Regions from separate parts of the Homo sapiens genome. Here all the other regions are linked to region 4. The links are contacts of gene promoters, found by promoter capture Hi-C in human tissues and cell types (Jung and others, 2019). All regions are on one chromosome and are shown on one strand. The core of a region is centred on a gene start or on the middle of the fragment in contact, and the rest is flanking DNA. Distances in the headings are between cores, read along the strand shown.

Region 1 (5,977 bases), core at 1,889-4,388, 580 kb before region 4:
GTCTGCCAGCAGATTGCACCCTGAGCCTACAACAGCTGCAGGCACTAAACTCCAACCTGTGTGAGGAGACATTGGGGCTGGACTTTGCTGCCCAAGACTTTGGGAGCCCACTCCTTGCACCAGTGTGCCTTGGATGCAGAACATGGAATCAGGGATTATTTTGGAGCTTTAAAGTTTTTTTTTGTTTTTGTTTTTGTTTTGAGACAGAGTCTTTCTCTGTTGCTCAGGCTGGAGTGTAGTGGTGCAATCTTGGCTCACGACAACCTTCGCCTCCCGAGTTCAAGCAATTCTTCTGTCTCAGCCTCCTGAGTAGCTGGGATTACAGGCACCTGCCACCACACCTGGCTAATTTTTGTATTTTTAGTAGAGATGAGGTTTCACCATCTTGGCCAGGCTGGTCTTGAACTCCTGACCTCGTGATCCATCCACCTCGGCCTCCCAAAGTGCTGAGATGACAGGTGTGAGCCACTGTGCCAGGCTAGAGCTTTAAAGTTTAATGTCTTCTCTGCTGTGTTTCAGACTTCTGTTAAGCCTATTGTCCCTTTCCTTTGGCAGATTTCTCCCTTTTATTTTATTATTATTATTATTTTATTTTTATTGTTGTTGTTTTGAGACAAAGTCTCGCTCTGTTGCCACGCTGGAGTATAGTGGCACGATCCTGGCTCACCGCAACCTCTGCTTCCTGGGTTCAAGCAATTCTCCTGCCTCAGCCTCCCAAGTAGCTGGGACAACAGGCACGTGCCACCATACCCAGCTAATTTTTGTATTTTTAGTAGAGACAGGGTTTCACCATGTTGGCCAGGATGGTCTCGATCTCTTGACCTCATGATCTGCCTGCCTCAGCCTCCCAAAGTGCCAGGATTACAGGTGTGAGCCACCGTGCCCAGCCATCATTATTATTTTTTGAGATAGAGTCTTGCTCTGTCCAGGCTGGAGTGCAGTTGCACAGTCTCAGCTCACTGCAACCTCCACCTCCCAGATTCAAGCGATTCTCCTGCCTTAGCCTTCAAAGTAGCTGGGATTACAGGTGCATGCCACCATGTCCAGCTAATTTTTGTATTTTTAGTAGAGAAGGGGTTTCGCCATGTTGCCCAGGCTGGTCTTGAACTCCTGATCTCAGGGATCCTCCTACCTTGGCCTCCCAAAGTGCTGGGATTACAGGTGTGAGCCACCACACCCGGCCTATTTTATTTGTTTTTTTGAGACAGATTCTCACTCTGTTGCCCAGGCTGGAGTGCAGTCGTGCAATCTCTGCCTCCCGGGTTCAAGCAATTCTCCTGCCTCAGCTTCCCAGGTAGCTGGAATTACAGGTGCGTGCCACCACTCCCAGCTAATTTTTGTATTTTTAGTAGAGATGGGATTTCACCATGTTGGCCAGGCTGGTCTCGAACTCCTGACCTCAGGTGATCCGCCCACCTCGGCCTCCCAAAGTGCTGGGATTACAGGTGTGAGCCACCACACCCAGCCCTTTTCTTTCTTTTTTTTTTTTTTTTTTTGAGACGGAGTCTCGCTCTGTCGCCCAGGCTGGAGTCTAGTGGCACAATCTTGGCTCACTGCAGCCTCAACTTTCTCGGCTCAAACGATCCTCCCACTTCTTTTTTTTATTTGAGACGGAGTTTTGCTCTTGTCTCCCAGGCTGGAGTGCAATGGTGCCATCTTGGCTCACCACAACCTCTGCCTCCCAGGTTCAAGTGATTCTCCTGCCTCAGCCTCTCAAGTAGCTGGGATTATAGGCATGTGCCACCATGCCCAGCTAATTTTGTATTTTTAGTAGAGACGGGGTTTCTCCATGTTGATCAGTCTGGTCTCGAACTATTGACCTCAGGTGATCTGCCCGCCTTGGCCTCCCAAAGTGCTGGGATTACAGGCGTGAGCACTGCACTCGGCCTTTTTCTTGAAACATAAAATTAGTCATTTTAATTTGCAATAATTTCTGTAGTTATTAAACAGGCTATTGAATCCATCCACAAAACTTAAGATACAATACTTAAGAACAGGGCTCTAAATAACAAGTGCCAGCTCTCTGATCTCATGGCCAACAACCTGAGATTCCTGCCATCTGGTCTCAGTTCAGGACCTTTGCACTTACTGTTAAACACCGCCCCCCCGGCCCCACCCCAGATCTCGCTTCTATCTGTCCTTTATTCAAATGTTACCTCTTCAGAGGGGCCTTCCATTATCACCCTTTCTAAAACAGCCTCGCTCTCACTTCCCATCCCTTTATTCTGCTCCATCGTTCTTCATTATGCTGGCCACTATCTCAAATTATCTTTTATTATTTATTTATTTATTTACTTTTGAGACGGAGTCGCTCTGTCGCCCAGGCTGGAGTGCAATGGCACGACCTCGGCTCACTGCAACCTCCGCCTCCCGAGTTCAAGCGATTCTCCCGCCTCAGCCTCCAGAGTAACCGGGCTTACAGGCGCGCACGGCCACGCCCGGCTAATTTTTGTATTTTTAGTAGAGACGGGCTTTCACCATGTTGGTCAGGTTGGTCTCACACTCCTGACCTCAGGTGATCTGCCCGCCTCAGCCTCCCAAAAGTTCTGGGATTACAGGCGTGATCCACCGCGCCTGGCCTCAAATTATCTTTATTCAGTTAAATGCTTTTATTGTCTCTCCCAGTACAATGTAAGCCCTAGCAGCAGAAGACTTTGCTTTAATCACGTGCTGTACCCCCAAAGCCCAGACAGTGCCTAGCACACACGAGATGCTCGATGAATAGTTATTGATTGAATAGATTAGACATCAACGCAATCAGGCTGTTCACCTAGGGACTCTTTGCTAGGCGGCGGAGAGGTACGTTACAGTTCTCTACGCAAAACGCATGCGCGAAAGATCCGGGAAGTGTGATCGGAAAGGGGCGGAGCATCAGGGAGAGTCTCGCGGACATAGGCGGTTCGGCGCGGAAAGCGGGAGGTGGAGGGGCGGCTTGGGGCAAGCGCGCGCGCGCAGTGCAGAAGCCAGCCCCCCGCGGCTGAGGTACTCAAGGTGCCCAAAGGCGGGGTAGTGACCTCGCGCGTGCGCTGTGCCCGCGGCAGCGCCGGGTCCTAGTGTGTGGGTTGTTGTTGGCACCGCACGGCGCGTGCGCAGTGAGGACGGCGGAGGGATTTGCGGCCGGGACCCACCCCCTGCTCCAGTCGCTATCGGAGGCCGCGCGGGTGGCTGAGCAGCGGCCTGGTGCGCTCGCTTAGCGGGCGACGGAATCAGACGGACGTGGACGCCCCCGGAGTGGAAGCCGAAGCAGGAGTTGTTGTTGCTGAGGGGCTGCCGCAGCCGCCGCGAGCCTCCGGACAGACGCCAGAGCGAGGAGGGCGCTACGCGGTGAGTGAGTGTGACTGAGTGGCCCGACGGGGTGCGGGGCCGCTACCCAGAAGCCCCAGCGGTGGGCCCGGTCCTCTTCCCCGCGGCCAGGCCCCTTTCCCGCGTCCCCGCCACAGGTCCCTTCTGCATCCCTTTCCCGGACCCCGAAATCTCTGGGCACCCACGCCCGCTTCCCACAGCGCCCTCGTGGTTCCCTACCCACAGGCCCTTGCGGTGTGTGGCCTTTTTTCTTTTTCGTTTGTCTATGTTGTCCTGGACCCTTACCCATAATTCCTTTCGCTTTTTGCGGGGTCCAGGTCTGTTACCCACAAGCACTTGGTTTTGGGGCTTCGCTCCTTATGTTTCTCTTTCTTTGCTTGGAAACTTCCGATCCCCAGGACCCTGCAAACTGCATCTCGTAATTTGCCCTCCACGGCACGGGACGAGCAGCCACAGCTGCTCTGGGCCTCCCTCCTCGGGTCCTTGATTTCCCCAGAAATTCCCAGGGAACCTCTCCGCCCCACAGCTCGTGTCAGAGGACTCTGAGACTTCACTCTTCAGGAACCCTTTTCCAGCCGTTATTTTTGTTTTCTTTACCGGCCTTTCACCTCCACCCCCACCAAGACGTACCCTTTTCTCCGCAACACAGGACTGTTCTCTGCCCTTACAGAGCCTGTTTTAATTCCGAGACTTTTCTCCTGTCTTTCTTATTTTGAGAGTCAAGGAGTAACAGGGGCTTTCTCTGTGCAGACCCGATCTAACCTAAGGCTGTCCTGCTTCTGCTCTCAGACTTGGCAAGATGACCCAGTTCCTGCCGCCCAACCTTCTGGCCCTCTTTGCCCCCCGTGACCCTATTCCATACCTGCCACCCCTGGAGAAACTGCCACATGAAAAACACCACAATCAACCTTATTGTGGCATTGCGCCGTACATTCGAGAGTTTGAGGTGAGTTCACTGAGCAGGCCAGGAATGGTTTGGGTTCTGGGGAGCAACGGGTTGGATTTGCGAGTCCAGCTTCTGGCCATTTTGCCAGCTGCGTGATTTAAGCGAGGGGCTTAACCTTTGTGATCCTCAGTTTCTCTGTTTTAAATGGGGTTGGAGCCGGGTGTCGGGTGTGGTCGAGTGCGTCTGTAGTCTCAGCTACTCAGGAGGCTGAGGTGGGAGGATTGCTTGAGCCCAGGAGTCGGAGGCTGGAGTGCTTTGTGATTGTGCCACTATACTCCGGCCTGGGTGACAGAGCAGGACTTCGTCTCTCAAAAAAAAAATTTTTTTTTTAAGTGGGGTTGTGGCCCGGTACGGTGGCTCACGCCTGTAATCCCAGTACTTTGGGAGACCGAGGCAGGCGGATCACTTGAGGTGAGGAGTTGAAGACCAGCCTGGCCAACATGGTGAAACCACGTCTCTGCTAAAAATAACAAAAATTAGCCGGACATGGTGCCTGTAATTCCAGCTACTTGGGAGGCTGAGGCACGGGAATCACTTGAACCCAGGAGGCGGAGGTTGCAATGAGCCGAGATCGCGCCACTGCACTCCATCCTGAGCAACAGAACAAGACTGTCTCAAAAAAAAAAAAAAAAAAAAAGTGGGGTTGATAGTACACCTTTTGTAGAATTTTTGTGAAAATTCAGTGAGTAGTGGTTGAGGATTCATGCCTAACCCACACCATTTATCAGCTCTGACTTTGGGCAAATGTTGTATCCTCTTAATGCATTGGTTTCTTTATCTTTAGCAAGGGGATAGTGGTAGCACCCTTATAATGTTGGTGGAGAATTAAATGGCAAACTGTATGTCAGGGGGCTTGGCACCAAGCAGTCAGCACATGTCAGCCTTTGTTACTCTGTTTACTACTTTTATTGTTAATAAGATGATGTTCATAAAGGCTTAGCACCCAGTATTGAGTATTGGAGGGCTTAAAACTGCAGATGGGGATCTTAGCTCTGCACCTTTGGGATAAATAGGAATGAATGACTTAGGCTCCTGGACCTCTGTGTTTTTATTTGTGAAATGGGATGACAAGGGTCATCTCTTAGGTGCATCAGAGCACACCTGAGAAAAGCTGGCACACAGTCGGAAGTTACAAGAAGAACGTTCTAGCATTGGGTAGGTAAGGGCAGCTGGAGGCGAGGGAGTTGCAGAGCAGAATTTCGTAGATAACAGAAAGGTATGTCTTCAGTGGGATTTGCCACCCTTGGTGAACCCGCACTTGAGAGATATTACTGGCCAATTAACTTAATGGGCACAGGCGGGTGGTAGGTGCCCTTTGATGATGCAGGTCATGTGCCAGTTACCATTTATTTATTTATGAGACAGTTTTGCTCTGTTGCCCAGGCTGGAGTGCAGTGGCGTGATTTTAGCCAACTGCAGCCTCCGGTTCAAGCAGTTCTCCTGCCTCAGCCTCTCAAGTAGCTGGGATTACAGGCATGCACCACCACGCCTGGCTAATTTTGTATTTTTAGTAGAGATGGGGTTTCACCATGTAGGCCAGGCTGGTTTCGAACCCCTAACCTCAGGTGATCCACCCCCCTTGGCCTCCCAGAGTGCTGGGATTACAGGTGTGAGCCACCATGCCTGGGAGCCAGGTACTTTTTTTTTTTTTTTTTTTTTGACTTGGAGTCTCGCTCTGTTGCCTAGGCTGGAGTGCAGTGGCGTGATCTCGGCTCACTGCAAGCTCCG
Region 2 (5,984 bases), core at 1,802-4,301, 860 kb before region 4:
AGCACTTTGGGAGGCCGAAGCAGGTGGATCACTTGAGCTCAGGAGTTCAAAACCAGCCTGGGTAACATGGTGAAACCCCATCCCTATTATTTAAAGATAATAAATAAACAAATACAGGTAGACAAAGACAGAAAGCAGACTAATGGTTGTCATGGGCTGGGGTGAGGGACAATGGGTACTGATTAATAGGTATGGGGGATTAAACAGTTCTGAACCTTGATGGTGCTGATGGTTGCATAACATTGCCTGCCACTGAATTATGGGCTTTAAAATGGTTGGAGGCTGGGCGCCGTGGCTCACGCCAGTAATCCCAGCCCTTTGGGAGGATGAGGCGGTGGATCATCTGAGGTCGGGAGTTTGAGACCAGCCTGGCCAACGTGGTGAAACCGTGTCTCTACTAAATATACAAAAATTAGCCAATAGTGGTGCATGTCTATAATCCCAGCTACTCAGGAGGCTGAGGCAGGAGAATCACTTGAACCTGGGAGGCAGAGGTTGCAGTGAGCCAAGATTGTGCCACTGCACTCCAGCCTGGGCAACAAGAGTGAAACTCTATCTCATAAATAAATAAACAAACAAACAAACAAATAAAATGGTTGGAATCCCACATTTGATGCTGTGTGTTATTATGTATGCGTATTAGTACCACAATAATAAAAAATAAGGCCAGGCATGGTGGCTCACGCCTGCAATCCCAGCACTTTGGGAGGCTGAGGTGGGCAGATCACTTGAGGCCAGGAGTTCGAAAACAGCCTGGCCAACATGGTGAAACCCTGGCTTTACTAAAAATACAAAAATTAGCCGGGTGTGGTGGCGGGCGCCTGTAATCCCAGCTACTGGGGAGGCTGAGGCAGGAGAATCACTTGAACCCGGGAGGCGGAGGTTGCAGTGAGCGAGATTGTATCATTGCACTCCAACCTGGGGGACAGAGTGAGACTCTGTCTCTAAATAAATAAATAAGAAAAAATAAAATAAAAAATAATACACGTGGTCGGCCTGCAATCCACACATGCCCTGGAGTGTGGGTGACATAGGGACAGCATTGTCCTACTCCCTCATCCTCCCCCTTCCGCCCCCTGGACCCGCGGGATCACAGCAGTGCGTTCTGTCTGCCAGGGCCACAGGCTTCCTCTGCTCTCACTCAGCTGAAGAAAAAGTACTGGGTCCCCAGCCAGAGGACAACTGCTGTGCTGGGCTGAAGGGAGAAGTGTGTGGTGGTCTCCAAGTAACCAGCTTCCTGGGGGCTCAGCAGGCGGAATCCTGCCCATCACGCTTATGTACTGGCAGGAGTGTCTGGCTGTGATTGGAGGTGTGTGTGCTCTGTACAGAATCGACTGGTGTTGCTTAGATGTCCAGAGTGGGAGGGGAGAGGGGAAAAAACAAAACCTTAAAATTCTGGAAAGGAAGGAAGAAAGGAAAAAACAGAGGGAGGGAGGGAAAGGAAAGAAAGGAATGGAATAAAAGTCTTCATGCCACAGAACTGTGCCCTGGAGGACTAAAATCAGCCAACCTGCTAACCAGTTACTGGAGCTGTAAGATGCTCACTTAAATCTTGTCTCAACCAAAGTTTCCTTCTGAAGACCTTGCTTTCAGCCGCAGCTATAAGTCCTAAAACCAAATGCCTCCTGGATCTGTCTCCTAGAAACTTCACAGTATCTCAGGCTCACCAGGTGCCACAAAGCCGCTCCTCCTCCTGGGTCCCCATGTGGGGACAGGCCCAAGGTCTACCTGGTCACCAGCCCGGCTTCCTAGCCTGCAACTCTTGCCCTCCACATGGCCTGAGAGGGCTCTTACTATACCCAGACATGGCCCTGCCCCTCCCTTCCTCAGAGCCCTCAGTGGCTCCCAGCACCCTTGGACAAGGCCCCAGCCCCTCAGCTCCTCCATGGCCCTGACATTTTCAGCCTCCTTAACCATGCTCCAACACCGCAATTTCTCCCAAATGTACCAGGCTCTACTCCCGTTTGGGGTTTGGATTGGCTGTCTCCACTCCTGCCATCCCCCACCGACTGTCCCCCTTCCCGCCATCTCCAACTGTCCCCTCTCCCGCCATCCCCCCTGGGCTGTCTCCTCTCCTGCCATCCCTCCCCCGGCTGGCCCTCTCCCACCATCACTTCCCCGGCTGTCCCTCTCCCGCCATCCCTCCCCCGGCTGTCCCTCTCCTGCCATCCCTCCCCCGGCTGTCCGTCTCCCGCCATCCCTCCCCCGGCTGTCCGTCTCCCGCCATCCCTCCCCTGGCTGTCCCCTCTCCCACCATGCCTCCCCTGGCTGTCCCCTCTCCCGCCATCCCTCCCCTGGCTGTCCCCTCTCCCGCCATCCCTCCCCTGGCTGTCCCCTCTCCCGCCATCCCTCCCCTGGCTGTCCCCTCTCCCGCCATCCCTCCCCTGACTGTCCCCTCTCCCGCCATCCCTCCCCTGGCTGTCCCCTCTCCAGCCATCCCCCTGGCTGTGCCCTCCCCCACCATCTCCCCCCCCAATGGCTGTCCCCTCTCCCGCGATCATCCTGGCTGTCCCTCTCCCGCCAGCCCCCCGGCTGTCCCCTTTCCTACCATCACCCTGTCACCTCTCCCACCATCCCCCTCTAAGCTTCCCTCTATGCCAGAAGAAGCCATGCTTTCTTTCAAGTGAGGCTGGGGGTCTCTACTGGCCTCCACAGGGCCTCCATCAGAGCACAGATCATACTGAGTTATGCCCACAGCATGGGGTTTTCCAAGTGAAGGAACCGGGTCTGCTCATCTCGGGGAACCCAGCATCACCAAGCATGAGCCTGGAGCATGGAAGGCCTCAGAAAACAAATGGTGAATGCACAGAAAGGAGAAACACACAACAAACAAACCAAGAGAGGTACACCTGGCAAGAGACACAGCAAGGAGGAGGAGATGCAGACAGGGACAGGGAGAGAGGCCGGCCGCCATGCCACCTGCAGGGAGTAGTGGAGGCTGGAGGAGGCTGGGTGCAGCGTGAGGTTCTGGAAGGGCTGGATTCGGGGCTGGCCCCAGCCCTTGTCATTCCATTCCACCATCAGCATGTGGTCGGTAAATGTCTTCCCAAACACCAGGGGCTCGCCGGGGCCAGGCTTCTTATGAGGCTTCTGTGTCATTTCCAGCTGCAGGTCTGCAGCCTGAGGAAAGACAGGGGTATCCTAGAATCTGGCCACAACCTCCCAGCTGAAAAACTACAACTCCCATGAAGCCCTGGGCCTCAGACCCATAGAGAAGAAGGACCTGTCACCCTGGAGGATTCTGGGACATGCAGTTTCATCCCTTGTCTGCGGCCCAATGGCAGGCTGTTAAGCTACCACCACTCACTGCCATCTCTGGGCTGTGGACCTTTTGGAGATGCCCAAAACCAGCTGCCAGCCCCCTCCTCTCTCAGAGCCAAGCATCGAGTTCCCTCCTTTCACCTTGAAACTGGAGGAGGCATATCTTCTGGGACCACACAGAAGCCAAGGGACAGAGAGAAGCTTTCGTGCCCAGATCTGGGTGGAGAAAGAAGTGAGAGAGGGGGTGAGTGGGGCACAGCAGGGGCCCTGGCAGCTCGCTCGCCACCTCCTGCACTTGGAGGTCCCACTGGCCTGCCTGTTCTGTCCCAGTTTCAGTCCATTCTAGACGGGGCAGGTGGTCCTGAAGGAGGCCAAGTCCCCTCCCTGCCCTGACGAGGGCTCGCTGGAAAGAGCTGAGTCAGCTCCCGCCCCCTCCTCCATGCTGCGGCAAAGTCAAACGCAAGCGCCTCCCACCCCAGAGACCTTTGGTCGCAGCCTGGAGATCAGCTCAGACAAGAAAACAACCAGGGAAGGCACACAGGTAAGTGAAGGCCTCCGGGTACCCAAGTGCTGACAGGCCTTAGAAGACCAAGGACCGACAGGTCCTGCTCCCCCAGAGCTCAGGGGTGCAGACCCCAGGCCCGCCTCCCTCAGACCTAAGTAAGAGTCCAGACTCTAGCTGCCTCCTCCCTCAGACCCGAAGTCTGGGCCCCCAGCCCCTCCTCCCTCAGACCCTGGAGTCCAGGCCTCAGACCCTCCTCCCTTACATCCAGGAGTACAGGCCCCACCCCTCCTCCCTCAGACCCAGGAGTCCAGTTCCCCAGCCCCTCCTCCGCCAGACCCAGGAGTACAGGTGCTTATTCTCTGAAGGTATTCGATCAACTGGGCTCTGATTACCTGAAATACAAACCCATTTTGGCAGTGACTCCAATTCCCTTCAGCCCCTGGGGCTGAGGGGCAGCTACAGGGGCCTGGGGAGCCACTGCAGTCCTCACTGCATGAGGCTCAGGCGGGTCCTCCCAGAGGGGAGTAGGAAGAGCAGGTCTGGCTGTGTCCAGCAGGCTGGGCCCTCTCTGGTGACCTTTGACCTCACAAGGCCTCTTTCCCCAGCCCTGTGGGGAGGCGTTGGGGCGTGAGGTTGAGAGAGACAGAGTGGCCTGGCCTGGCCTGCCCTGTGAGCTGGGTGAGTTGGCACTGATTCTGGAAGATGGACGTGAATGGGCGTGGTCACTTGTCGCTAGGTGAGTTGCTGGGAGATGGGCCTGCAGCGTGGTCTTGCTGGTGTGAGGCTCCAGGGATTCCGGGGTGATCAGAGCGTGGGTCCCCAGATTGCCTTTGGGTGGCGACATCTAGACTGCTCAGCCTTGCAGCCATGCTTCTGCCCAGAGGGATAGGACACCCACAGTATGAGAGACACAAACACAGTGCGACAGCCAGCCTGTGGGCAGGAGAGCTGCCCTCAGAGCCAAGATGAAAAAAAGAGAGTAAGAGATGGAAGAGGAAGGATGAGAAAAAGAAACACAGAAAGGGGCGCACAAACAGAAAAAAAAAAAAACAAAAACAGAAATTGACGCCAAGAAACAAGAGATGCCAAAATAGATCTAATCATAGAAAGAGGCCACACGCAGTGGCTCGCGCCTGTAATCCCAGCACTGTGGGAGGCCGAGGCAGGAGGATAGCTTGAGGCCAGGTGTTCAAGACCAGCCTGGGCAACATAGGGAGACCCTGTCTCTACAGAAAATACAAGTTAGCTGGGTGTGGTGGCGGGCGCCTGTAGTCCCAGCAACTTGGGAAGCTGAGGCAGGAGAATTGCTTAAACCCAGGAGGCGGAGGTTGCAGTGAGCCGAGATGGTGCCACTGCACTCCAGCCTGGGCGACAGAGCAAGACTCTCTGTCTCAATTAAAAAGAAAAAAAACAAAGAAAGAAAGTAGGCAGCTGGCTCAGTAGCTCATGCCTGTAATCACAGCACTTTAGGAGACAGAGGTGGGAGGACTGCATGAGGCCAGGAGTTCAAGATCAGCCTGGGCAATATAGCAAGACCCTGTCTCTACAAACAATTTAAAAATTAGCCAGGTATGGTGGCACACACCTGTAATTCCAGTTACTCAGAAGGCTAAGGTGGGAGGATCACCTTGACCTACTGGTCAAGGCTGTGGTGAGCTACGATCACACTGCTACACTCCAGCATGAGTGATAGAGTGTCTCTCAAAAAAAAAAAAAAAAAAAAAAAAAAAAAAGACCAGCATGGTGGCTCATGCCTGTAATCTGAGGCAGGTGGATCGCTTGAGCCCATCTACTCGGGAGGCTGAGGCACCACAGTCACTTGAACCCATGAGGCGGAGGTTACAGTGAGCCGAGATCGTGCCACGGCACTCCAGCCTGAGCAACAGAGCAAGACTCGGTCAAAAAGAAAAGACGAGACAAAGAAATAAAGTACGTTTGGGGGTTCACAGGGCAGGTCTCTATAATGTGATAGAACCTCCATTATGTCCCATACAGCCCAGGAGTATCACCATCAAAGACCAGGAGTGTCACTGTCAAAGCCCAGCAGTGCCCTCCATACTCCAGGACTGTCCCCATATCACGGCCCCGGAGAGACCCCATCATACCGCAGTCTGCCCTTGTCACAGCCCACACATGACCCCATCACGTCTAGAACTGCCCCCTTTATAGCCCAGGACTCTCCCCCATCACAGACCAGGGCTGTTCTATGATGGCCCAA
Region 3 (5,467 bases), core at 2,016-4,515, 550 kb before region 4:
ACAAGTGAAATTAAGAATTAAGTAGGTGGTGGCCAGGCATGGTGGCTCTGTAAACTCAACACTTTGGGAAGCCAAGGTGGGAGGATCACTTGAGCCCAGGAGATGGAGACCAGCCTGGGCAACATCGCAAAAGCCTGGTCTCTACAAAAAATACAAAAATTAGCCAAACGTGGTGGCGTGCGCCTATGGTCCCAGATAGGAGGCTGAGGTGGAAGGATTACCTGAGCCCAGGGAGGTAAAGGCTGCAGTGAGCCATGATTGCACAACTGCTCTTCAGCCTGGGCAACAAAGTGAGACCCTGTAACGACAACAACAACAAAACACACACACACACACACACACACACACACATATATATGTATATATAGAGAGAGAAATAGCATGTTACTTAGACACAGAAGCAGCTCTCAGACTAAACATCTGTAAGTTCCCTCTCACAGTGAGTAGAGTTAGGAGAGGTAGAGGCTGGTGCTTTTCACTATTATTAGCCTGTCTGTGTTATTTGATTTTGTTTTTAATCCCATAAAGACATTACTTTTTGCTAAAGAGAGAGCTACAGTGAAGGAGACAGCCAGACAAACCTGCTCTAGTCCTCCCACTTGGAACAAGCACTTTTCTGGACTCCATATCGCCACCCAGCAGAACCAGAAGAGCAGCCAACTTTCTCCAAAGTCTTGTCCACATCTCCTCGGCCTCTCTAGAGCATGATACCACTGACCACTTCCTTTTTTTATTTTTTATTTATTTATTTAATTTTCCAAGATGGAGTTTCGCTCTTATTTCCCAGGCTGGAGTGTAATGGCACGATCTCGGCTCACTACAACCTCCACCTCCTGGGTTCAAGCTATTCTCCTGCCTCAGCCTCCCAAATAGCTGGGATTACAGGCACCCGCCACCACGCCCAGCTAATTTTTTGTATTTTTAGGAGAGATGGGGTTTCATGAAGTTGGCCAGGCTGGTCTCAAACTCCTGACCTCAGGTGATCCGCCCGCCTCAGCCTCCCAAAATGCTTACAGGCGTGACCACCACACCTGGCCTCACTTTTTTTGTTTGTTTGTTTGTTTGAGACGGAGTTTCGCTGTTTTTCCCAAAGCTGGAATGCAATGGCATGATCTCCGCTCACCGCAACCTCCGCCTCTTGGGTTCAAGCAGTTCTCCTGCCTCAGCCTCCCCAGTAGTTGGGATTACAGGCATGCACCACCATGCCTGGCTACTTTTGTATTTTTAGTACAGACAGGGTTTCTCCATGTGGTCAGGCTGGTCTCCTGACCTCAGGCGATCCACCCGCCTCGGCCCCCCAAAGTGCTGGGATTCCAGGCGTGAGCCACCATGCCCAGCCACACTTCTTTTTAAAAACACTCGCAGCCAGACACAGCGGTTCGTGCCTGTAAACTCAGCACTTTGGGAGGCCAAGGCAGGGGGATTGTTTGAGCCCAGGAGTTCAAGACCAGCCTGAGCAACAAAGACCCCTCCATCTAAAACAAACAAAAAAAGAAGATAAAATTTAAAAACCCCTCTTCTCATGGTTTCTCCCACCTGGGTTTCTGCCTACATTTCAGGCCATTCTCTGCTGTCCTCCTGACTTTTAAGTGTTAGAGAGGTCTGGGGACCAGTTCTAGGCCGTCTTAATATTCGCTTGCCCCTGACATTCTTATCCACTCCGGTGGTTTTATTTACCACCTATGCCCCAATATTCAAACATGCCTGCAGACCAGGTTGCTCTTTTGAGCCCTAGACCTAGATCGATAGTTTCTCCCCATGGATTCTGCATAGGCTCCTCAAATTCAAAATATCCAGTATCGGCCAGGCAAGGTGGCTCGCGCCTGTAATCCCAGCACTTTGGGAGGCTGAGGCAGGTGGATCACTTGAGGTCAGGAGTTCGAGACCAGCCTGGCCATCATGGTGAAACCCCATCTCTATGAAAAATACAAAAATTTGGCAGGTGTGGAGGTGCACACCTGTACTCTCAGCTACTCAGGAGGCTGAGGCAGGAGAATTGCTTGCACCCGGGAGGCAGAGGTTGCAATGAGCCGAGATCACGCCACTGCACTCGAGACTGGGCAACAGAGGGAAGACTGTGTCTCAAAAACAAAATATCCAGTATCCCTCTTTCAGTGTAGACCATCTTAAAAATGGCACCAAAGCACCTTAATACTGTCTTCTCCTGCACCTCCCAATCCCCTTATATAGCCAAGCACCAAGGCTTGTCTAGACATTTCCCACATCTGCCCACCCATCTTCTGTGCTTTGGCCCTGGTGCTAGCTGCCACCTGGATGGCTGTGGTAGCCTCGTAAGTTGCCCCGCTGCTTCTCCTCTTGTTCTTGTCCAAACCAGTCTCCACAGTGGCTACAGTGATTTTTTTTTTTTCAATAGATACGAGGTCTCACTATATTGCCTATGCTGGTCTTGAACTCCTGGGCTCAAGTAGTCTTGCTGCAGCCTCCCAAAGCGCTAGGATTACAGGTGTGAGCCACCGTGCCCGGCCCCAGTGATCTTAAAATACAAATTTGAGGCCCAACCTGGGCGACAGAGCGAGGCTCCGTCTCAAAAATAATAATAATAATAATATAATAATAATACAAATTTGAGTGTCATATTTTTCTCTTAGGAGTTTGCATGAAGCCCCAAATCCTCAAGGCGCATATGCCAACGCAGGAGCCCAGGCATAAACTATCCTGCCGACCTTTTCACCTCATCATCAACCAATCCTAACTCTGCTTCCAGCCACGTGGGCTCTTTCTGGGTGGTGGGGGTGACCCAAGCTCCACCTCTTGTTCATCTTACCTCCCAGGACTGTATGTCAATGTCCCTCCTCTAGGATTTCCTTCGTTTTCTAGATCATCACCTCCCCACTCTCAGCTCTCATCACAGCCGTAGTTGGTCGTCTACCTCCCCTATAGACTGGAAGCTTCGTTCGGGCCGTGGGCTTGGCTGTCCTGCTCACCACGGTGTCCATGACTTGGGCTCAGATGTTTCACAAGAGTTTGTTGAATGAATGTGGGGAAAGGATGGACAGGGGATAGACGGGTGTGGAGGGCAGGCAGACACGGATCCTGAAAGGTACACACAGACCGAACCTGCAGTGGGAGGGGTCGCCAACAGGACCGACTGGCCGGGGCGGAGGGCAGGGCGCGGCTGGCGCGCGGCAGGTGGTCGGAGCAGTCGGGCGAGGGAGAGCTGGGCGCTCTCCAGGCTGCGCCTCCGCAGGGGGCGCCCGTGGCCCGGGGCGTGGCCTCGCGCAGCCCCGCCCTCCTCGCCGGCGCCAGGGCAGGCGGGCGGCTGGCAGCTGTGGCGCCGACATGGCTGCGCTGGTGGAGCCGCTGGGGCTGGAGCGGGGTAAGCGTGCGCCAGGGGGCCCTGCCCACCCGGGCCGCGGCCTACATACCCAGCCCCCGGTCCCCGCCCTTCCCGGGTCAGGCCAGTGCGGGTGGGCCAGCGGACCCGGAGGGGGTGGGCGGGGCGGGCGCCGGGGCCGGGCGGTCGCTAGGTGTGGGAGGCTCCCTGGGCGCGGGCCGGGACGCTGGGCGCCCGCCTTACAACCCGGCCTGTGGAGGGGTCCCGGGGCCGCAGGGCCGCTGGTGGCAGTCTCTCCTGCGCCACCCTGGACTCTGCGGGGTGTCCGACTAGGCTTCGGCCGTCCTCCCCGGACTGTGCGCTCGGCCTCACTCCGCCGCTCTCCTTGCTTCTCTGCGTCTCGGGGTCTCTGACACTCGGGGTTTCTGCGCCCCGCCCCCGCCCCGCAGACGTGTCCCGGGCGGTTGAGCTCCTCGAGCGGCTCCAGCGCAGCGGGGAGCTGCCGCCGCAGAAGCTGCAGGCCCTCCAGCGAGTTCTGCAGAGCCGCTTCTGCTCCGCTATCCGAGAGGTGAGGGGCGCGCGGCGCAGGGGCGCGAGCTGGTGGCCGTCGTCCTCCTCCTCCTCCTCCTGCTTGTCCCGAGCCCGGAGACTACGCCTCCCGGCAGCTCCCGAGGCGGCCCGCCTTGGGGTGCCAACGCTTCAGCTCAGGGGTTCTTCGGGAGTTGTAGTTTTCTCGGCCTTCTGTTGCGGGGGCGGGGCGGATCCTTGCGTGGTAGCGGGAGAGGGTCTAGAGGCCTGAACTCCTGCGTCTAGGGCTGGAGGAGCTGGCGACTCCCTGATGCCGCTGCCTCCTCACCCAGGTGTATGAGCAGCTTTATGACACGCTGGACATCACCGGCAGCGCCGAGATCCGAGCCCATGCCACAGCCAAGGTGGGCCCCGCACCCCATTGCTCCTGGTGTCTATTTAACTGCCTAGTCGAACTCAATATCTCCTTCATGCCAGTCATTTCTGTTTCCTCCCTCATGATTTTTGCTAAATCTATGTGCCACCTTACTATTAGTAAATAATCGCACATTTTTAACTTAAATGTCATACTAAGGCATCTTTAGCAACTGCAAATGGAAACAGTATGGCATGGTTGGTAGAAGATAACCTTCAACATCTGTACAGTGCAAACCAGGAAACTCATGGCGCTCTGACCTCTCACTGCACAATAGTTAGATGCTGCTACCTCTTGCTGCTGTCCGGAGGCTCAGATCTCCCTCCAGGCCTGGCTTTCCTCTGTTTAAAAGTAAGATTGAGGCCAGGCACGGTGGCTCACGCCTGTAATCCCAACACTTTGGGAGGCCGAGGCAGGTGGATCAGTTGAGGTCAGGAGTTCGAGACCAGCCTGGCCAACATGGTGAAACCCCGTCTCCACAGAAATACAAAAAAAAAAAAAAAGAAAGAAAAAGCCGAGCGTGGTGGCGAGTGCCTGTAATCCCAGCTGGATTACAACTCCGGAGGCTGAGACAGGAGAATCGCTTGAACCCAGGAGGCCGAGGTTGCAGTGAGCCGAGATCATGCCATTGCACTCCAGCCTGGGCAACAGAGTGAGACTTCATCTCAAAAAAAAAAAAAAAGTAAGATTGGCAAGTATGGGGTATTCAAGACACACACCAAATGGACACTTTCTCTTGCAAGTGAACAGAAAGAGACGCACAGTCATTACAGGGGGATCGTGCATTGTGCCATGACAAGTGTCCCATGCTTGGGGATAGTAACCCAGGCTAAATCGCTGTCCTCGGTCCACATCCCCCACCCCAGCTTTCATGCCTACCTGGAAGGGGCCCTCATCTTCAGTCGCTTTCTCTCTCCCAGGCCACAGTGGCTGCCTTCACAGCCAGCGAGGGCCACGCACATCCCAGGGTAGTGGAGCTACCCAAGACGGATGAGGGCCTAGGCTTCAACATCATGGGTGGCAAAGAGCAAAACTCGCCCATCTACATCTCCCGGGTCATCCCAGGGGGTGTGGCTGACCGCCATGGAGGCCTCAAGCGTGGGGATCAACTGTTGTCGGTGAACGGTGTGGTGAGTGGAGGGCTGAGGCAGGACTGGGGGACACAGTCTGTCTAACGTAGCATAGCCCCTGCTTTTGACATTCACTCAACACACACTGAGTGTTGTCTG
Region 4 (5,557 bases), core at 2,329-4,828:
CTGGAAGACTTGGCGGCCCCGGTAGAAGGCTGTCACCTCGAACTCCCACTCTGAGCAGCGGCAGCAGCGGCATGAAGGGGAGAGGGGTTGAGAATCAGGGGCTGCCGCCCAGACCTCAGCCCTCCCAGCCTGCAGCTGACACTCACCTTCCCCCGGCACCAACAGCCGCTTCAGTGGGTTCTCAGAGGGCCCCAGGTTTGGGAAGGGAGTGGGATTGTCCAAGCTGGGGCTCCGCAGGGGCTGAGGGCAGGGCTCAGGGGCTACAGCCAGGCTTGGGGGTCCCGGATCTGGGAGTGGGGCCAACACCATGTTACCCAGTAACTCATCCAGAATGTCTTCCTGGAGGGAAACAAAAAAAGAGAATCAGGCATTTCCATATCCTTTTCTGGAGACTTCATATGGACCAGGTCTGTTCTCAGCAACGCAGGGAGGTCAGGCTTGAGCTCTGCCTTCAAGGGGCTTCCAGCCTGGGGACAGAGCCAGCCATGGCATCAACAGCCAAACAAACACTAATGAACGCCAGGTGCTACCATTCCAACCCAAGGATCTGGCTCTATGCAGGTAAGACCTGGGCAAAGCAGGCTGGGTAGAATTTCAGAGGGGATGCTCCCCCAGCTTGGGCCTCAGCAGGATCAAGGTGAGGGAGTTTTTCAGTTCCCAAGAGGCTGACAGCCCCCTGCGAATCGAAATCCATGAAATCCCGGGAAGGTGTGCTCGGGCCTTGAATGCTGGGTGAAGACTTGGAATTTTCTCCTGAGGAGACCGGGGCAGGGACAGACAGGGTCAGCACTGGCTCAGGTGAGGGGCAGGCTGGAGGCAGGGGAGTGGGGGGATCGTCTAGAGGGAGAGGACAAGGCCCATGGAGACAGGTCGGAGACTGAGGGGCATGAAAGTTGGGCACATTCTCACCTGGGTATCAGAAGTACTGCCTCCACCATTGGTGTCCGGAGAGGTGTCTGGCTGGGAAAAGTCCCCAACTCCTGTTGAGAAAAGTGGTGAGGGGAGTAGGAGTGCCAGGAACCCTTGGGGCCCCAGCCTCCCACACGAACCCCAAGCTGGCAGACCTGAGTTCACAAACTCGTAGATTTTATGTGGGTCGTGAGGGTCCTTGCTCCGGTCCTCTGCTAAACGCAACCCTTCTTTGCGGTTGAGGGCAGAGCGGAAATTCCTCTTCCAGGTTGGCAGGTCTGGCTTATCCCTCCCGGGAACATATGCACCAGTGGCCTCGGCCCAGGCCTGGGGCAACAGTGGTGTCAGGATGGTGGGGGAGGACGACTTAGATCCTGCTCCTGGGGCCCTAACCCTGTCTCCCGAGTCCTAACACCACCCTCTTTCCCTGGCAAGTTCTAACTCTGCAAGGTCCATCCCCAAATCCCCCCGTCCCACCTACCTCCATCCCCCACCTCTAGTTTTCAAAAGGCTTTTTTTCTTTTTGAGATGGAGTTTCACTCCTGTCACCCAGGCTGGAATGCAATGGTGCAATCTCAGCTCACTGCAACTTCCGCCTCCCCGGTTCAAGCGATTCTCCTGTCTCAGCCTCCTGAGTAGCTGGGATTACAGGTGGGCACCACTACACCTGGCTAATTTTTGTATTTTTAGTAGAGATGGGGTTTCACCATGTTGGCCAGGCTGGTCTTGAACTCCTGACCTCAGGTGATCCGTCCTCCTCGGCCTCCCAAAGTGCTGGGATTACAGGCATGAGCTACTGTGCTCGGCCTCTTCAAAAGCCTTTGAAACCTCTTTGGTTTTTGTTTTGTTTCGCTTTTGTTTTTAAAGAGATGGAGCCTATGTTGCCCAAGCTGGCCTCAAACTCCTGGGCTCAAGCGATCCTCCCGCCTTGGCCTTGCAAAGTGCTAGGATTACAGGTGTGAACCACCGCCCCCGGCCCAAAAACCTTTTCTTTCTAAGCCAGGCTTCCAAGTCCAACTTGGTGTCTAATCCCGTGCACCACCTGCCCCGCGACACCCTCTGTGATAACCCCGCCCCTCACACTGTTTACCACCTCTGGCATATACTAATTCGGTAGTTAGGAACCTCAGATTTGGGGCTCCAGGCCTCACCTCTGATGTTTCAAGAACCATCCCCCAGTATCTATCCTACAACCAAGAGCCCCGGCCTCTAGAAAGCCCCAAACCCCCAGGATGCATTTCCTTTGCGTACTAACCGGCTTTCCCGGTTTTATTCCCGTAACCCTGCAGCTCCAACCCTGCTTGCGCCCCACCATCAGTCAGCGGATCCGGCTAGCCCCGCCCCTCCCGTTCTAGCCCCACCCACCAGCGTTGGCACGAGCCCGCCCCTCGCGCGCCACCTCCGCCTTCTCAGCCGGGCCCACTAGGAGTCCTTTCCGCCCAGCGCGCAGCTCCGGGTTTCCAGCGTCCCAGGTCGTCGCACGCACCTGGAAGATTCCGAAATCCTCCTGCTGTGCATCCTGCCGTAGGCCGTGCTTCCAAGGGATGCGGAAGCGCGTGCGGCTCTTGTTCACCCAGGCCACGCCCTCCAGTTGCCCCAGGTCCAGCTGCGACACCAGCCAGGGCAGGATCCGTGGCTTTGGGGTTCCCATGGTCCGGCCTGCGCGTATAGGGCATTTCCTGGGCGCGACCGGCCTCCCCCGGACCCACCTGGCCTGGAGTTTCCGCACCCAGACCTCCTTCTCACGGGCCACGGCACAGGTCCTTCACCCATATTTTCGGGGGTACAAACAGGAAACCTCCTCTTCCCATCCTCCCATCCTCCCGAGAGGCTCTCTAATCAGCTAGGGTTCCTTCCCATATCCATGGCACATCCTTCCCCAGCGTCTTCAGTGCAGACCCTCCACTCCCTCAATTCCGCCAGTATAGACCTCCTCCCTCCCCCACATCATCGAAAGTAAGTATCCCCACTTTCAGGGTAGCATCCTCTTTCCCTAGTTATTTCAGTGCAGAATCGATTCACGTGTAAGCCTCTACCTCCTGCACTTACCCCAATGTAGACCCCCTTCCACAGTCCCCCTACAGAAGATCTCCCAAAACATTTCCAACACAGAACTTCCATTCAATTCCCCTCCGACTGCCCGCCTCCCTCCTCCAGGACAGAGCACGCCCCAGGTTTCGAGACTGAACTACCCCCATCTACGGAGTCCACCCCTCCCTCTCTAGAACCCCCTCAGTGTAGACGCCTCCTCTTTTCCTCTTTCCTCCCTACTTTTTCTAGTTTTTCTGCAGCCGACCTCCAGCGTCGGCCACTGTAGCTCCTTCCTTGCTCCACTTTCCCCAGAGTACACAGCCTGCCTTTCCACTCTCCGTGCAGACCCATCCTCTTTCCCGCTCCTCGCTCTCGGACGCCACCAACGCTCTCCCGGGCTCTTCCGCGTTACCTACGATGGAAGGTCGGGGCGTGCGGGCAGCTGGAACCCACCCCTGTCTTGGAGCTCCGGGTAGCTCTCAAACTCGAGGCTGCGCACCCCCTTTCCCGTCAGCTGAGCTCTAGAGCGCTGGGGCTTTCTTTTTGATCGACTTCTTGAAATAAAACCAACTTTATCATTCTTTGGGTAACAGACCCAAAAGCCGATGGGACGGCCCGCTGGGCTGTTCCCGCCCCTATGCCCTTTTTTGGGTTTCCGGCCAGAGGCATGCTGGGAGCGTCACATGCAAATTGAGCGTGCACCCAGCGTTCCGCCCTTTCTACGCTGGGCCGGTTATCGACCCGGCCCAGTGCGCAGGCGCGGGAAAGTTGAACTAATAAAGTTTGTACGAGTTCAGTGGAGGAGACCGCAAGTTGAGTGGAGGAGGCGGCGGTGGGGCCCCGGACCAGGTCAGCGGGGTGTTGACGAGGGGTGGGGTGAGGAGGGAAGAGGAGGGGGCCGGGATCCAGTGGTGGGCACCCCAGTCCCGCTTCTCTGATATCCAAGGGTCCAGGGTCCTCTAGATTCCAGCAGGGGTCGGAGATTTGGAACTACACCTCACAGCAGGCTGCGCGGCGAAGAAGCGCGGACCTAGGGGAAGATTTGCCCTGAAACCTCTTGGGATTGGTAGTTCCCGATGCTTTAAGGGTTTCAGGAGTTTGGCATATGCCTCTTATAGAATCCAGGAGTTGGGGCGCTAAGCCTCTTCTTCCTGGGAGACCTAAGGGTCTGGGGCTCCAGTTCCTTTTTCTCTAAGACTCAGAAGTCCAGGACCCCAGCTCCCTCCTCCTTTAGACCCACGAATCTGGGCACCCAGCCCCACCACCTTTCCTTGGATCGAAGAGTCTTTTTCCTGATCGCTTTTTCGTCTGAGGACTCAAGAGTCTAGGCCCCCAGACCCACACTCTCCAAAGGACCCAGGAGTCCAGGCCCTCAGCACCTTCCTTGGGACTCACAAGTCCTGGTCCCCAAGCCTCCACTTCTTGCTAAACCCTTGGAGTCCAGTCCCTAACCCTCTCTCTCACAGGTGCCTCCATGGCAGGCTCTGAAGAGCTGGGGCTCCGGGAAGACACGCTGAGGGTCCTAGCTGCCTTCCTTAGGCGTGGTGAGGCTGCCGGGTCTCCTGTTCCAACTCCACCTAGGTAAGAGGAGTGGCCCTTCTCCCCCAGGGGCCAGCATTTGAGGCTCCCTCCTAACTCTTGCTCCTGGTCTCAGTCTGTCTCCTCTCTTTATATCTGGCTCTATTCTCTGTCTTTGGGGTTTTGGAGAGAGGTCCTCAGCGGGGGAGGGAGGGAGTTGGGGAAAGAGACTGCTTGCAGGGGATCTCTGGTGGGGTCAGTCTCTGAAGTCCTCCTCTCCAGAAGCCCTGCCCAAGAAGAGCCAACAGACTTCCTGAGCCGCCTTCGAAGATGTCTTCCCTGCTCCCTGGGGCGAGGAGCAGCCCCCTCTGAGTCCCCTCGGCCTTGCTCTCTGCCCATCCGCCCCTGCTATGGTTTAGAGCCTGGTAAGAGATTTCCATGATCATCTATGAAGCCGGCAGAACACGGGATAAGGTGCTAGTTTAAGATCACTCAGCTAGGGGGTGGCTGTGTGGAGTCTCTAGCACCAGCCTTCAGGACAGAACCGTCCTGTCCTCTCCCCTCCCCAGTTAGATTTCTGTCAATTCTGTGGGTTGGCTTTCAGAGAGCATTTGGTCAATCTGGTTGTTGTCTCTTTCCTTCCATAACTACTTCCCTGCCCCTAGGACTTTTGTAGCCAGGAATACCCCTGATAGAGGGGCAGAAGGGCTGGTTTTCAATCACATCTCCCTGGCTGTTTTAGTTGCGTGACTCTGGGGAAAATGCTTTCTCTTCCCTGCTCCCCTGTTTTTCCAATAGCAGAGTAGGAATTGGGGAGGAGGTCACTGGACTTGATCAAGGTGACCCACAAGTTTCCTCATAGGTGTGAACCTGGACAGACTAGTAATGGCTGCTGGGAGTGCTAGCTTGAAAAGGGGTTCACAGCTTGGGAGAGGAAGTGCTGTGATCAATTGGTGATGTCTGTAGTGAGTGAGGGAAGGGGATACTAACAGTAATGTCTTGTGTTTGCCTTCCTTGGATGAGATCATCTTCAAGGTCTAGTTGAGCTCTGACAGTCTTTTGGAGACAGATTGTTGCTCTGTCACCCAGGCTGGAGTGC

What was found. The method cuts DNA at HindIII sites, captures the fragments that hold promoters and counts their contacts. A contact is called where the count stands out against the background at its distance.
Region 1: the fragment with the promoter of SNRNP70 here is called in contact with the fragment with the promoter of IRF3 in region 4 in 1 of the 25 tissues and cell types used here (dorsolateral prefrontal cortex).
Region 2: a fragment that was not itself captured here is called in contact with the fragment with the promoter of IRF3 in region 4 in 1 of the 25 tissues and cell types used here (pancreas).
Region 3: the fragment with the promoter of LIN7B here is called in contact with the fragment with the promoter of IRF3 in region 4 in 6 of the 25 tissues and cell types used here (adrenal gland, bladder, dorsolateral prefrontal cortex and 3 more).

Annotation. Positions count from the first base shown.
Region 1 is chr19:49,082,313-49,088,289 of GRCh38, forward strand. SNRNP70 (small nuclear ribonucleoprotein U1 subunit 70) reads left to right here and starts at 3,139. Exons shown (of 10, transcript NM_003089.6): 1 at 3,139-3,324; 2 at 4,093-4,249. The coding sequence starts at 4,103. RefSeq lists enhancers at 2,815-2,884, 3,235-3,324. The HindIII fragment of the contact is 18,802 bases long and covers 1-5,977 here.
Region 2 is chr19:48,803,598-48,809,581 of GRCh38, forward strand. BCAT2 (branched chain amino acid transaminase 2) reads right to left here. Exons shown (of 11, transcript NM_001190.4): 2 at 3,403-3,477; 3 at 2,920-3,120. It overlaps LOC105372432 (a long non-coding RNA gene), which reads left to right and starts at 3,772. Exons shown (of 3, transcript XR_936017.4): 1 at 3,772-3,802; 2 at 4,372-4,502. RefSeq lists an enhancer at 2,895-3,566. The HindIII fragment of the contact is 4,226 bases long and covers 939-5,164 here.
Region 3 is chr19:49,111,105-49,116,571 of GRCh38, forward strand. LIN7B (lin-7 cell polarity scaffold B) reads left to right here and starts at 3,266. Exons shown (of 6, transcript NM_022165.3): 1 at 3,266-3,337; 2 at 3,745-3,863; 3 at 4,156-4,227; 4 at 5,159-5,368. The coding sequence starts at 3,301. RefSeq lists a silencer at 3,086-3,665. The HindIII fragment of the contact is 18,984 bases long and covers 1-5,467 here.
Region 4 is chr19:49,662,279-49,667,835 of GRCh38, forward strand. IRF3 (interferon regulatory factor 3) reads right to left here and starts at 3,579. Exons shown (of 8, transcript NM_001571.6): 1 at 3,353-3,579; 2 at 2,396-2,568; 3 at 1,065-1,236; 4 at 910-980; 5 at 147-339; 6 at 1-50. The coding sequence starts at 2,560. BCL2L12 (BCL2 like 12) reads left to right here and starts at 3,655. Exons shown (of 7, transcript NM_138639.2): 1 at 3,655-3,789; 2 at 4,407-4,521; 3 at 4,741-4,883. The coding sequence starts at 4,415. RefSeq lists silencers at 3,558-3,707, 3,748-3,827. The HindIII fragment of the contact is 43,433 bases long and covers 1-5,557 here.